Linked DNA regions of Homo sapiens: all the other regions are linked to region 4. The links are contacts of gene promoters, found by promoter capture Hi-C in human tissues and cell types (Jung and others, 2019). All regions are on one chromosome and are shown on one strand. Each heading gives the region's core, a stretch centred on a gene start or on the middle of the fragment in contact. The rest is flanking DNA. Distances are from core to core; before and after follow the strand shown. Region 1 has its middle 10 kb from the start of GSTP1. Region 2 overlaps LRP5 (LDL receptor related protein 5). Region 3 overlaps LRP5 (LDL receptor related protein 5). Region 4 holds the start of NDUFS8 (NADH:ubiquinone oxidoreductase core subunit S8).

The links. The method cuts DNA at HindIII sites, captures the fragments that hold promoters and counts their contacts. A contact is called where the count stands out against the background at its distance.
Region 1: a contact is called between a fragment that was not itself captured here and the fragment with the promoter of NDUFS8 in region 4, in 1 of the 25 tissues and cell types used here (dorsolateral prefrontal cortex).
Region 2: a fragment that was not itself captured here is called in contact with the fragment with the promoter of NDUFS8 in region 4 in 1 of the 25 tissues and cell types used here (heart right ventricle).
Region 3: a fragment that was not itself captured here is called in contact with the fragment with the promoter of NDUFS8 in region 4 in 2 of the 25 tissues and cell types used here (bladder and dorsolateral prefrontal cortex).

What each region holds. Positions count from the first base shown.
Region 1 is chr11:67,592,460-67,595,159 of GRCh38, forward strand. No RefSeq gene overlaps it. Among named protein-coding and RNA genes, the nearest start is that of GSTP1, 10 kb to the left of the region's middle. The HindIII fragment of the contact is 3,217 bases long and covers 1-2,700 here.
Region 2 is chr11:68,348,593-68,351,292 of GRCh38, forward strand. The region is part of intron 2 of LRP5 (LDL receptor related protein 5); the gene reads left to right. Among named protein-coding and RNA genes, the nearest start is that of LRP5, 37 kb to the left of the region's middle. The HindIII fragment of the contact is 8,182 bases long and covers 1-2,700 here.
Region 3 is chr11:68,318,552-68,321,251 of GRCh38, forward strand. All of the region lies in intron 1 of LRP5 (LDL receptor related protein 5), which reads left to right. It overlaps LOC124900302 (a long non-coding RNA gene), which reads left to right. Exons shown (of 2, transcript XR_007062749.1): 1 at 1-2,700. Among named protein-coding and RNA genes, the nearest start is that of LRP5, 7.3 kb to the left of the region's middle. The HindIII fragment of the contact is 3,073 bases long and covers 1-2,700 here.
Region 4 is chr11:68,029,423-68,032,122 of GRCh38, forward strand. NDUFS8 (NADH:ubiquinone oxidoreductase core subunit S8) reads left to right here and starts at 1,259. Exons shown (of 7, transcript NM_002496.4): 1 at 1,259-1,311. It overlaps GLTC1 (glycolysis associated regulator of LDHA post-transcriptional modification 1), which reads right to left and starts at 1,012. Exons shown (of 4, transcript NR_197583.1): 1 at 871-1,012. RefSeq lists enhancers at 1,000-1,294, 1,286-1,465. The HindIII fragment of the contact is 8,880 bases long and covers 1-2,700 here.

The DNA.
Region 1 (2,700 bases), core at 193-2,692, 440 kb before region 4:
GAGGCCGGGAGTTCGATACCAGCCTGGCCAACATGGCGAAACCCGTCTCTACTAAAAAGTACAAAAATTAGCTGGGCATGGTGGTGGGTGCCTGTAATCCCAGCTACTCAGGAGGCTGAGGCAGGAGAATTGCTTGAACCTGGGAGGCGGAGGTTGCAGTGAGCTGAGATCGCGCCACTGCCCTCTAGCCTGAGCGACAAGAGGGAGACTGTCTCAAAAAAAAAAAAAGTTTCTATAAGCTTTGCCAATTTGATTTTTATTATTTGTGCATTTCACAAGTCTGGAAGACTGAGGGTGGTATGGACAATGGAAATGTTGAAAAATCAGCCATACGTTACAAATAAACTGAATTATTTGACCAGTGAAATGGGTTCATTAGTTTCCATGAAGATTGGAGGGAGCTCTCCAAGAAGGAATAGGGCAAGATTTAAAGTAGTCATGGTCAAAGATGCAATCAACAAAGAAATTTGGTCATTTTATTTTTTTGTGGCCTACTGAAACGGGAAGGGTTCCCTTGTCCCCCTTGCAGGGCATGTGATGGGGGAGTGGCTCGCTTCTTCAGTGCCCCGCTGCTCAGACCTGCAGGGGAGCATACAGATGGGCAGGTTGTGGGGCTCCAACCCACGGCAGCATCTAGGGGTGGATGTTTACAGCTCCTGAAGCCCTAGTGGGCATGTGTTACAGGGTGCTCTTTTAGTTTTGCCATCTATAGGCAGCTTGTGTTAACCAGCAGCTCAATTAGACCCTCTGCTTTGTTACAAGGACAGAGGGATTTCTGTATCCCAGGTTCTTGCCTTGGTGTACTGGAAGAATAGGATCACACCTGGGCTTGGAGAATGAGTGCAAGGTTTTATTGAGTGGAGGTAACTCTCAGCAGTTGGAGGAAGCCAGAAGGGCATGGAGTGGGAAGGTTTTGCCCTGGAGTCAGGCTGCTCAGCGGCCTGGGCTTGCCTTTGACTGCCCGGCCAAACTCCGCCTCGTTCTGCAGGTGGATGGCCTGCCGGCATGCTGGCGTCTGTCGTGTGCTCTTCCACCAGCCTGCTCCCTTCTGTGGCAGATTGGTCAGAGAGGTGGGAAGAACTATAGGGAAAGGACGCAAACCTTCTGAAAGGTGGGAAGGTTCTGCAGAGCCCTGGGGGAGAAGAACTGAAGGCAGCTCTTCTATAACCCTGAGGCAGAGGGCAAGGAGTAGGTACAAGGGAGTATGGGGGATTTTATCTTAAATAGGCATGTTTACTTATGTCGACCAGGAACTGACCTTAGATCATCTATGATCACCTATGATCATGTTTCAGGGAACATGAGGTTCCCTGAAAGGGGAATAATAAATATTAATGACTTACAGATTGTGTCGGCTCCAGGTTTTCGACATTGTGCCTGCACTGAATAAAAGCAAAGCAGCTCCAGCTTCTTCCACTAGAGCCAGGCAGTCACCTAGCTGCTCTTAACACTGCATACCTGTGTCTGGGTACTCATTTCCTCTGTTGGCCAGGGTCTGTGGGACAGAGCTGGCACCCCTCAATGACCTCTCAACGTCCAGCCACTTGTGTCTTCTTCTGCCAATGTGTTCCTCTCCACGTCCAGCTGCTTGTGTGTCTGCTTGCTAGGGTCTCAGGGTTTTTATAGGCACAGGATATGGGTGTGGTGGGCCAGGGTGCTCTTTGGAAATGCAATATTTGGGCAGGAAAACAAAAATGCCTGTCTTCACCCAGGTCCATGGGCACAGGCCTGGGGGTGGAGCCCTAGCCAGGGACTACACATTCCTCTACCCAGCACTTCCCTGCCCCCCTTCCGTATCACTATAATTCAACACAATACTTACAATAATGACTGATAATATATACCAACACATATCAGATTTTTAGGAATCTCATATAATTTTGGAACACATATTAATAACACATTTCACAAATATAACTCAAAGAAAGTTAAATGTCATTTCTTTTTTGACAATGCTTGCTGTGTAATTTTTACATGCCAAATAATACCAAGTTCTCTTGAACTTACATGGGTTTTTTTTTTCTTTTTCAAATGTTGAAACGTTAGTTTGAGGTCAAAATGGCTTAATTTAGAATTTGAATTTTCATTTTTGGAAGTTTGTCAAATACCAAAGCTTTAAAACACTTGATATTAAAATAGAAAAGGTTTAAAAGACTTGTTCAAAATAGAATCATGGGGAACTTCAAAATAATAGTCATTCATTTAGCCAAAGTGATAACTGAAAGATTTCAGAAAAGCTGGGTGTGGTGACTCACATCTGTAATCCCAGCACTTTGGGAAGCCAAGGTGGGAGGATCACCTGAAGTCAGGAGTTCGAGACCAGTCTGGCCAACATGGTGAAACCCTGTCTCCCCTAAAAATACAAAATTAGTTGGGCATGGTGGCAGGTGCCTGTAATCCCCGCTACTCAAGAGGCTAAGGCAGGAGAATCGCTTGAACACGGGGGGTGGGGGGAAGGTTGCATTGAGCCAAGTTCGCACCATTGCACTGTAGCCTGGGCAAAAAGAGCGAAACTCCATCTAAAAAAAAAAAAGATTTCCGAAAGCAAAAACCTTTATTGTTTGATAGAGAGGAGACTCAGTTTTCTAAACAATCCAAAGACCTAATGAAGGAAGCATAAGGCAAACTCGCTCCTCTTTTTTTATTTTTTTCACTTTGCAGTTTGCTCAAAAGGCAAACAAAAATCTTTTACAATCTCTT
Region 2 (2,700 bases), core at 134-2,633, 320 kb after region 4:
AAAATGAACCCGTGGGGGGGTTGGCTCAGGCCTGTAACCCCAGCACTCGGTGCGACTCTGAAAATGAACCCGTGGGGGTGTTGGCTCAGGCCTGTAATCCCAGCACTCTGGGAGGCCAAGGCGGGCAGATCACCTGAGTCCAGGAATTCAAGACCACACTGGGCAACATGGTGAGACCCCATTTCTACAAAGTATACAAAAATGAATCGGGTGTGATGGTATGCACCTGTAATCCCAGCTTCTTGGGAGGCTGAGGTAGGAGGATCATTTGAGCCTGGGAGATCGAGGCTGCAGTGAGCTGTGATCCCACCACTGCACTCCAGCCTGGGCGACAAAGTGAGGAGATCCTGTCTCAAAAAAAAAAAAGAGCTCAGCTTTCAAGATTTGTTATTGTTGAAGGAATTACTTCCCCTTGAGATTCCATAGTTATGTTCCTTTTTTTTTTTTTTTTTTTTAATTGAGATGGAGTCTCCCTTGTTGCCCAGGCTGGAGTGCAGTGGCACAATCTCGGCTCACTGCAACCTTCGCCTCCCGGGTTCAAGTGATTCTCCTGCCTCAGCTTCCCAAGTAGCTGGGATTACAGGCGCCCACCACCACGCCCAGCTAATTTTTGTAGTTTTGGTACAGATGGGGTTTCACCATGGTGTCTAGGCTGGTCTCGAACTCCTGACCTCAGGTGATCCACCCACCTCGGCCTCCCAAAGTGCTGGGATTACAGACGTGAACCACCGTGCCTGGCCCATAGTTATGTTCCTTTTTAAAACTTGCATGTCTGAGGCAACCGATGTGGTTGGCCATGGGTTTGAATGGTTAAACACATCTTTGCTGTGTGTATGGTGGGCGGCCTGGGAAGTGCGGACGCTCAGGCAGGTGGAATTTGCACCTTCTCCTGGCTTTCTAATTGCATTGGCTGAAAAAGTGCAGCTCCTTGTCTGGAAGCAGAACCTGCTGGGAGTGGTTCTCGGGTCCGTTCTGGAAGCTGCCCTGTGTCCTCCTCAGCTCCTAGTCTGGCTGAGTTCACCTGGGCCCTTGAAGGCTCAGGGCCTGGCCGTGATCCCAGGTGGGGAGAGCGTGGGTGGCAGGAAAGCTTTGGAGTCGAAGTCCGGGGTGGAGAGTTTAAGGGGAGGTGGCCCAGCTCCACTGGCCAGCTAGGCCAGGTCACCCCAGACTCCCGAGCAGAGGGAACAGTTTGCTTGGCCACCCCTTGTCCCTCCTTTGTCCCTTTTCTTGCAGCCTGGGAGTGACTCTGGGGGCCGTACACACACCCTTACCTGGGCTGTGCTAAGCCCTGGCCCTTGCTGACCTGTCAGGTTCTGTGCTGGGTCAGTGTCAGAACTGGTTGGCAGAGGTCTTGACTAGAACACAAGAGCCATTTCCCACCACCCCCAGGCTCAGTTGGAAGCCCTTTGCCTGTTAGTTCATTCAGTGTCACCACAGTCTCTCAGCACTCCCAGCCTGGACCTCACCGGTTGAGGGGCCGGCCTAGATCTTCTTTGCGCAATGGCACGATCTCAGCTCACTGCAACCTCCACCTCCCGAGTTCAAGTGATTCTCCTGCCTCAGCCTCCTGAGTAGCTGTGATTACAGGCGTGCACTACCACACCTGGCTAGGTTTTGTATTTTTAGTAGACACAGGGTTTCGCCATGTTGGCCAGGCTGGTCTCAAACTCCTAACCTCAAGTGATCCACCCTCCTCGGCCTCCCAAAGTGTTGGGATTGCAGGCGTGAGCCACTGCACCCAGCCTGACCTAGATCTTCTAGGTTAGAAAGTCCCAGGAGTGGGCGGCCATGCATCCAGGCCTGCCACAGGAGCCCGCCTGCCCTCCTCCCTGAAGTCAGGGCTCTGGAAGCCCTTCCCTTGGCCATGCCCTGTGGGACAGTGTCCAAGCTCTGGAGTAGGACTGAAGACCCCTGGGCTCTAGTCCTGGGGCCACCAACTTGCTGTTGCCCTTTGCAGTGACCTCCCCCTGACTCCCATGGTGCCGGCTGCAGGAGCCGGGCGGGAGGGGCTGGTTGCCAGATCCTGCAGATGCCCCTCCTCTGGGCCTGCCCAGGGTAGTGGGAATGAGGGTGTGGGGTGAGGGTCTGTCCTCACCAAGGCTGGTGTTTGGGAGCTCAGGAAGCAGAGTGCCATGTGGCCAAGTTCACCTCTTTGATCTGTGTGGTGACTTAGGAAGCCATTGACTGGCTTCTGACGAGCATGGGAAGGGCTGGAGCCTTTCAGAGCCCAACAGGTTTGTGTGAGAGCCAGGCGTGTGTGTGTCTGAGCAACTGAGTGTGGGAGTGGGAGGATGTGAGCGTGTGTGTGTGTGTGTGCGTGTGCACGCATATGCGTGCATACGTGTGAGCCTGTGTGTGTCCGTGTGTGTGCATGCATGCGTGTGAGTGGATATTTGTGTGTGTATGAGTGTGCGCATGTGACTGTGTGTGCACGTGTATGTGCCCGTGTGAGCGAGTATGTGCGCGAGAGTGTCTGCATCTGAACCAGTCTGTGTGTAAGTATGGGGTACCAGCAGGGGTGGGACACGGTGGAATTTATCGCCAAAGTATTTTGAGTCCCTGAGGTCAGGCCAGAGCAGCCTCGTGCCCCCACTACCTGAGAAGTGCCCCCGGCCTCCCAGGGGTGCTGTGCTGGGCAACCACTCATCCCTGGAGCCCCTCGTATGCCCTCGCTGCCCTCCGAGTGGGCTAGCCACCCCT
Region 3 (2,700 bases), core at 117-2,616, 290 kb after region 4:
TGGTCTTGAACTCCTGGGCTCAAGCGATCCACCCACCTCAGCCTCCCAAAGTGCTGGGATTACAGACATGAGCCACTGCGCTGGGCCTTAATGTAGTTTTTCTTGTGGTTAAACTGAGGTGAAGGTTCACTCAAGGAGGAAAGTGGTTTTTAGCCTTTTGAGGGGCTCAAGGACCCCTTCAAGGATATGACAACGGCTCCTCTCCTGAGAAGGTGCCTGGTGGGGGCGGCACAGGCTCCACTCCACCCCATTGCAAGAATCCAGGGCCCTGCAGGGCTCAGAGCCCTCTCCCTGCCTCCCTGTGGGGCATTGAGAGGCACTCACCTTCTGAGGGCCTCAGTTTCCTTTTTTTGTAAAATAGAACCAGCTGATTCCAATCTCTATGGTCTCTTCTAGCACGGAGCTTCACGTTTTTTCTCCCTTCAGGATCCTGAGGCCTCTGGATCGCTAGAGATTGGGGGTGCCCCCAGAAGAGGCGCTGCTTCTGTGCCCTCCCTCACCCCACCGTGCCTGGCTCCTTGTTTTTTTTTTTTTTTTTTTTTTTGAGACAGGAGTCTCACTCACGCCCAGGATGGAGTGCGGTGGCACGATCTCGGCTCACTGTAACTTCTGCCACCCTGGTTCAAGCGATTCTTGTGCCTCAGTAGCTGGGACTACAGGCATCTGCCACCATGCCCAGCTAATTTTTGTATTTTTAGTAGAGACAGGGTTTTGCCACGTTGGCCAGGCTGGTCTCGAACTCCTGACCTCAAGTGATCTGCCTGCCTCGGCCTCCCAAAGTGCTGGGATTACAGGCGTGAGCCACCATGCCCAGCCTGCCTGGCTGATTTTTTAAAATTTGTCGTTGAGATGGGTGTCTTGCTTTGCTGCCCAGGCTGGCCTTGAACTCCTGGGATCAAGCGATCCTCCCACCTCAGCCTCCCAAAGTGTTGGGATTACAGGCATGAGCCGCTGTGCCCAGCCTATTTTATTATTATTATTATTTAATTTTATTTTTTCTCACTATTGCCCAGCTCCTGGCCTCCAACTCCTGGGCTCAAAGGATCTTCCTGCCTCAGCCTCCTGAGTAGCTGGGACTGCAGGCATGTGCCATCACACCCTACTTTGTACTTTTGCTTTTCTGTCTTTGCTCTTGTTAAAAGCCAAGTGCCATTTCATAGTACACAGGTGCACTTGACAGCATTTACCTGATTGAGGAGTTTTTCCAGCCTTCATTGCTATTACAAAGCATGCTTGCTCGTGTGTCTCTGCATGTGTATAAGTGTTTTTATAGGATACATTCCTAGTCAAAGAGTGTGTCCATTTCTGTTTTTAAAGATATTGAGGCCGGGCACAGTGGCTCATCCAGGTAATCCCAGCACTTTGGGAGGTTGAGGCAGGAGGATCACTTGAGTCCAGGAGTTCGAGACCAGCCTGGGCAAAATTGGGAGACCCCCCATGTCTACAAAAAATTTAAAAAATTAGCTGAGTATGATTGCACACTCCTGTAGTCTCAGCTACTTGAAAGGCTGAGGTGGGAAAATCTATTGAGCTCAGGAGGTCAAGGCTGCAGTAAGCCATGATCACAGCACTGCAACAGATCTAGCCTGGGCAACAGAGCGAGACCCTGTCTCAAATACATACATACAAGCATACATACATACATAACTCCTAAAAGGCTGTAGCAGTTCATACCTGCAAGCATCTACGAGAACACACACTTTCCTATATCCTCTCTGATGCTGGCAATTACAAGATTTTGGTTTTTGGTGTTTTCTTTGGTCCAGTTTGGTTAAAAATTATAACACCTTTTGATTTGCACAACCCTCATTTCTGGTTTATTGGTATTTACTTTTCTGCAAATTGCCTACACTTATCCTTGGCCCATTTTTCTGTTGTCTTTTTCTTTTCTTTTTTCTTCTTCTTCTTTTTTTTTTTTTTTTGAGACAGAGTCTCGCTGTGTCCTCCAGGCTGGAGTGCAGTGGCGCGATTGCCATCTTGGTTCACTGCAACCTCTGCCTCCCGGGTTCCAGCTGTTCTCCTGGCTCAGCCTCCCAAGTAGCTGGGACTACAGGCATGCGCCACCACGCCTGGCTAATTTTTGTATTTTTGGTAGAGACAGGGTTTCACCATGTTGGCCAGGCTGGTCTCGAACTCCTGACCTCAAGTGACCTACCCATCTCCGCCTCCCAAAGTGCTGGGATTACAGACATAAGCCACGGTGCCAGCCTGTTTATCTTTTTCTTATAGATTTGTGGGAGGTCTTTATTTGGTATGGACTTTAATTCTTTGTTCTGTTTGTTTCAGGTTTCACTGCTGGTCTGTAGCTAGTCCTTCATCCTTGTTTCTGGTGGTACATTATCATAAAGATATTAAGAAGCTTCATATAATCATAACTCTACTTTTTCCCTATGGCTTTTTTCCTATCCCTTGTTACTCCATCTCCAGATTATAAATATATCCTCCATTATTTTCTTCCAGGACTGTTACTGTTTTATGTTTTACATTCAGACATTATTCTGTCTGGGTTTTTTTTTTTTTTTTTTTTTTGTATATGGTATGAGGTAGGGGTCTGGCCAGTGAATAGGGAGTTGTCCAACACCTTGGTGGGATGGTCCATCCTATCCATTCATTGTAAATGCTGCTCTTTTATGTGTAGTGTCCACAGACACCTGGGTCCTGATTCCAGACCCTTCACTGTGCTCCACTGCCTGTGAGTGT
Region 4 (2,700 bases), core at 9-2,508:
GATGAAGGGCCAGGGTCAGGTGTGGGCCACCATCCCAAGACCTCCCTTCTCTCTAGGGCCAGCCCCTCTCCTCTGAGCACCTGCTGACCAGCCCAAAGCCCTCTCCACTCCTCAGCTTGAACTCCCCCAGGGTCTCCCTGTGGCCCACAGGTCCTTTGGAGGCTCGGGCATCTGCATGCAAATCCCAAACCACTGTCCCCTTTGCACACACTGAGCCTGCCCTTGTCCTCGTCCTGGTCTACCATGCGTGTCCTCCCTCTGCACGGGCATGGGACATGCCCTCTGCCTCCTTCCTGTCCTGGCCTGCCCAACTCCTACCTACCCTCAGCGCAGATCCTCCCAACACACACATGCAGGCAGCCTCGGGGCCTCTGCGGGTCCCTCTACCACAGCATTCCCGGGGAAAGGCCCGGCGTGGTGGCTCACGCCTGTAATCCCAGCACTTTGGCAGGCCGAGGCAGGAGGATCGCCTGAGTCCAGGAGTTCCAGACCAGCCTGGGCAACATGGCGAGACCCCGTCTCTACAAAAAATACAAAAATTAGCCGAGCCTGGTGGTGGCAGGCGACTGTGGTTCCAGCTGCTCGGGAGGCTGAGAAGTGAGGATCACCCGAGCCTGGGAGGTCGAGGCTGCAGTGAGCCGAGATCGCACCACTGCATTCCAGCCTGAGCCACAGAGCCAGATTGTCTCAAAAAAAGAAAAAAAAAAAAAAAAAAAAAAAAATTCGCTGGTAGGAAACATAGGCTGGTTGAGTACGGGAGTCATACAGATCAGGTGGATCAGGCGGCCGCACACCGCAGCTCTACGGCCCGGGAACGTTACTAAATACTCCCATGCCTCAGCTTCCCGCCTTAACGTGGTAACACGTTACTGTAGTTTCTCCACGCAGAGCTGCTGTGAGGATTAAAAGAGGCCGCGTGAGTTGAGCATCTCGTCGCCATTACCGTCATCACACGCCCCCCACCCAACCCGGCGGGCCCACCCTCTGCACCCACGGCGAAAGCACTCTTTCTAAACCACGCCCCGGATGTCCCGCCTCCAGCGGCTCGGAGGTCTTCACTTATTGGCCTCCCCAAACCAACATGGCGGCCCCCTACAAACTTCAAGCGCCGGTCTCTCCTAGCCAATCAAAAGAAAGATATTTCTGAATCCCGCCTCTTTCAGCAGCCTTGCTGGCCAATCAGACCACACCATGAAGCATCAATACAGAAAAGGGGGAACCCGCTGGCCCAATGGCAGCGTCCTACAGTGTAGCCTCCGCCTCCCGATTGACTGGCCTGCTTGGCAAGGCAAGTAGCGGCGGCGCTTCAAGGTGGGTGTTCACGTTTTGGCCGTGAAAGTCGGGCTTGGGCAGCGTGGCGTCGGGGGCGAGTGTGGTGTCCCCGTTGGCGCCGCCAGCTCTGCGCCTGGGCTTCCCCTCGGCTCACTCAGGATCCGCGGCCTCCGTGTCCTTCAGGTGCAGCGGGGAGCCGGCTCTCAGGGCGCATGCGCCGCCCGCTCTGCGCCACCGGCCTAGTTAGGGTCGGAGATCACTGGGAAGGTGGGGAAGGTGCTGGGTTGGGTCCCTGGAACTGCAGTCAGTGATCCAAAGGAGTGGGCCTGTTAGGGGGTTCACAGGTCGTGGGATGAGCTCTTATGAGCGCCGGCTAAGTGCCGGGCTCTGGGGTGCCCTTGGCATGTACGGGCTCCCCTAATTCCCAAGACCAACCGCCCCCAACCCACTTCATAGGTGAGAAGACGGAGGTCAGGTCACATCATCTGCCCAAGGTCACGCGGCAGGCTGGGGGACAGTTCCAGGAGGGCCTTGAAGCTGGGGAAAGGAATGTGGTACCGAGGACTGTTCAGGCCTTGAAGAGTTTCCAGCAGGGCAGGGCTGGGTTCCGATCCTCGGCCCACCTCCTTATCGTGTGACTTCCGACAAGTCACTTTTTTATCTTTTTTTTGAGACAAGGTCTCACTCTGTCGCCCAGGTTGGAGGGCAGTGGTGCAGTCTGGGCTCACTGCAACTTCTGCCTCCTGGGTTCAAGCGATTCTCCTACCTCAACCTCCCGAGTAGCTGGGATTATAAGTGCCCACCACCACACCTGGCTAATTTCTGTATTTTTTGGTAGGGACGGGGTTCCACCATGTTAGCCAGGCTGGTCTCAAACTCCTGACCTCAGGTGATCCACCTGCCTCAGCCTCCCAAAGTGCTGGGATTACAGGCGTGAGCCACCACACCCAGCCCTAGCGAGTCACTCAACAAACTGAGTCCCAGCGCCTTATTTGTGCCTCCCTCGTGGAGTCCTTGTAAGGATAGGATGGCAGCGCTTTCCACCCCTGGGCACGGTTCCTGGGGGAGGAGAGCTAACAAAGTTCGCTCTCAGTGCATGCTGGCGGGGGCTGGTAATGTTGTTTTTGGTTAGATTTGGGGAGGATGAAGGGAGGAGCAGAAAGGTGGGAAACAGGATCTCTGGGAGGGAGAAAGGAAGGATGGATTTAAAAGGTTTCTTAGGTGAGGCAGAACTTGGGGTCCACAGAAACTGAATTGTAGCTCAGCCAAGCTGAATCAGATGGAAAGCTGGGAGGCGCTGGGAACAGGAAAGCCATCTGTGCCTCTGACAGCAATGGGGTGCGAGTAGAGGGCAAAGTGACACATGTCAGTGGAGACTTGGGATCCTTGCGGTGCCAGTCTCAGAAGAGGATGGTTCTTGGGCACACC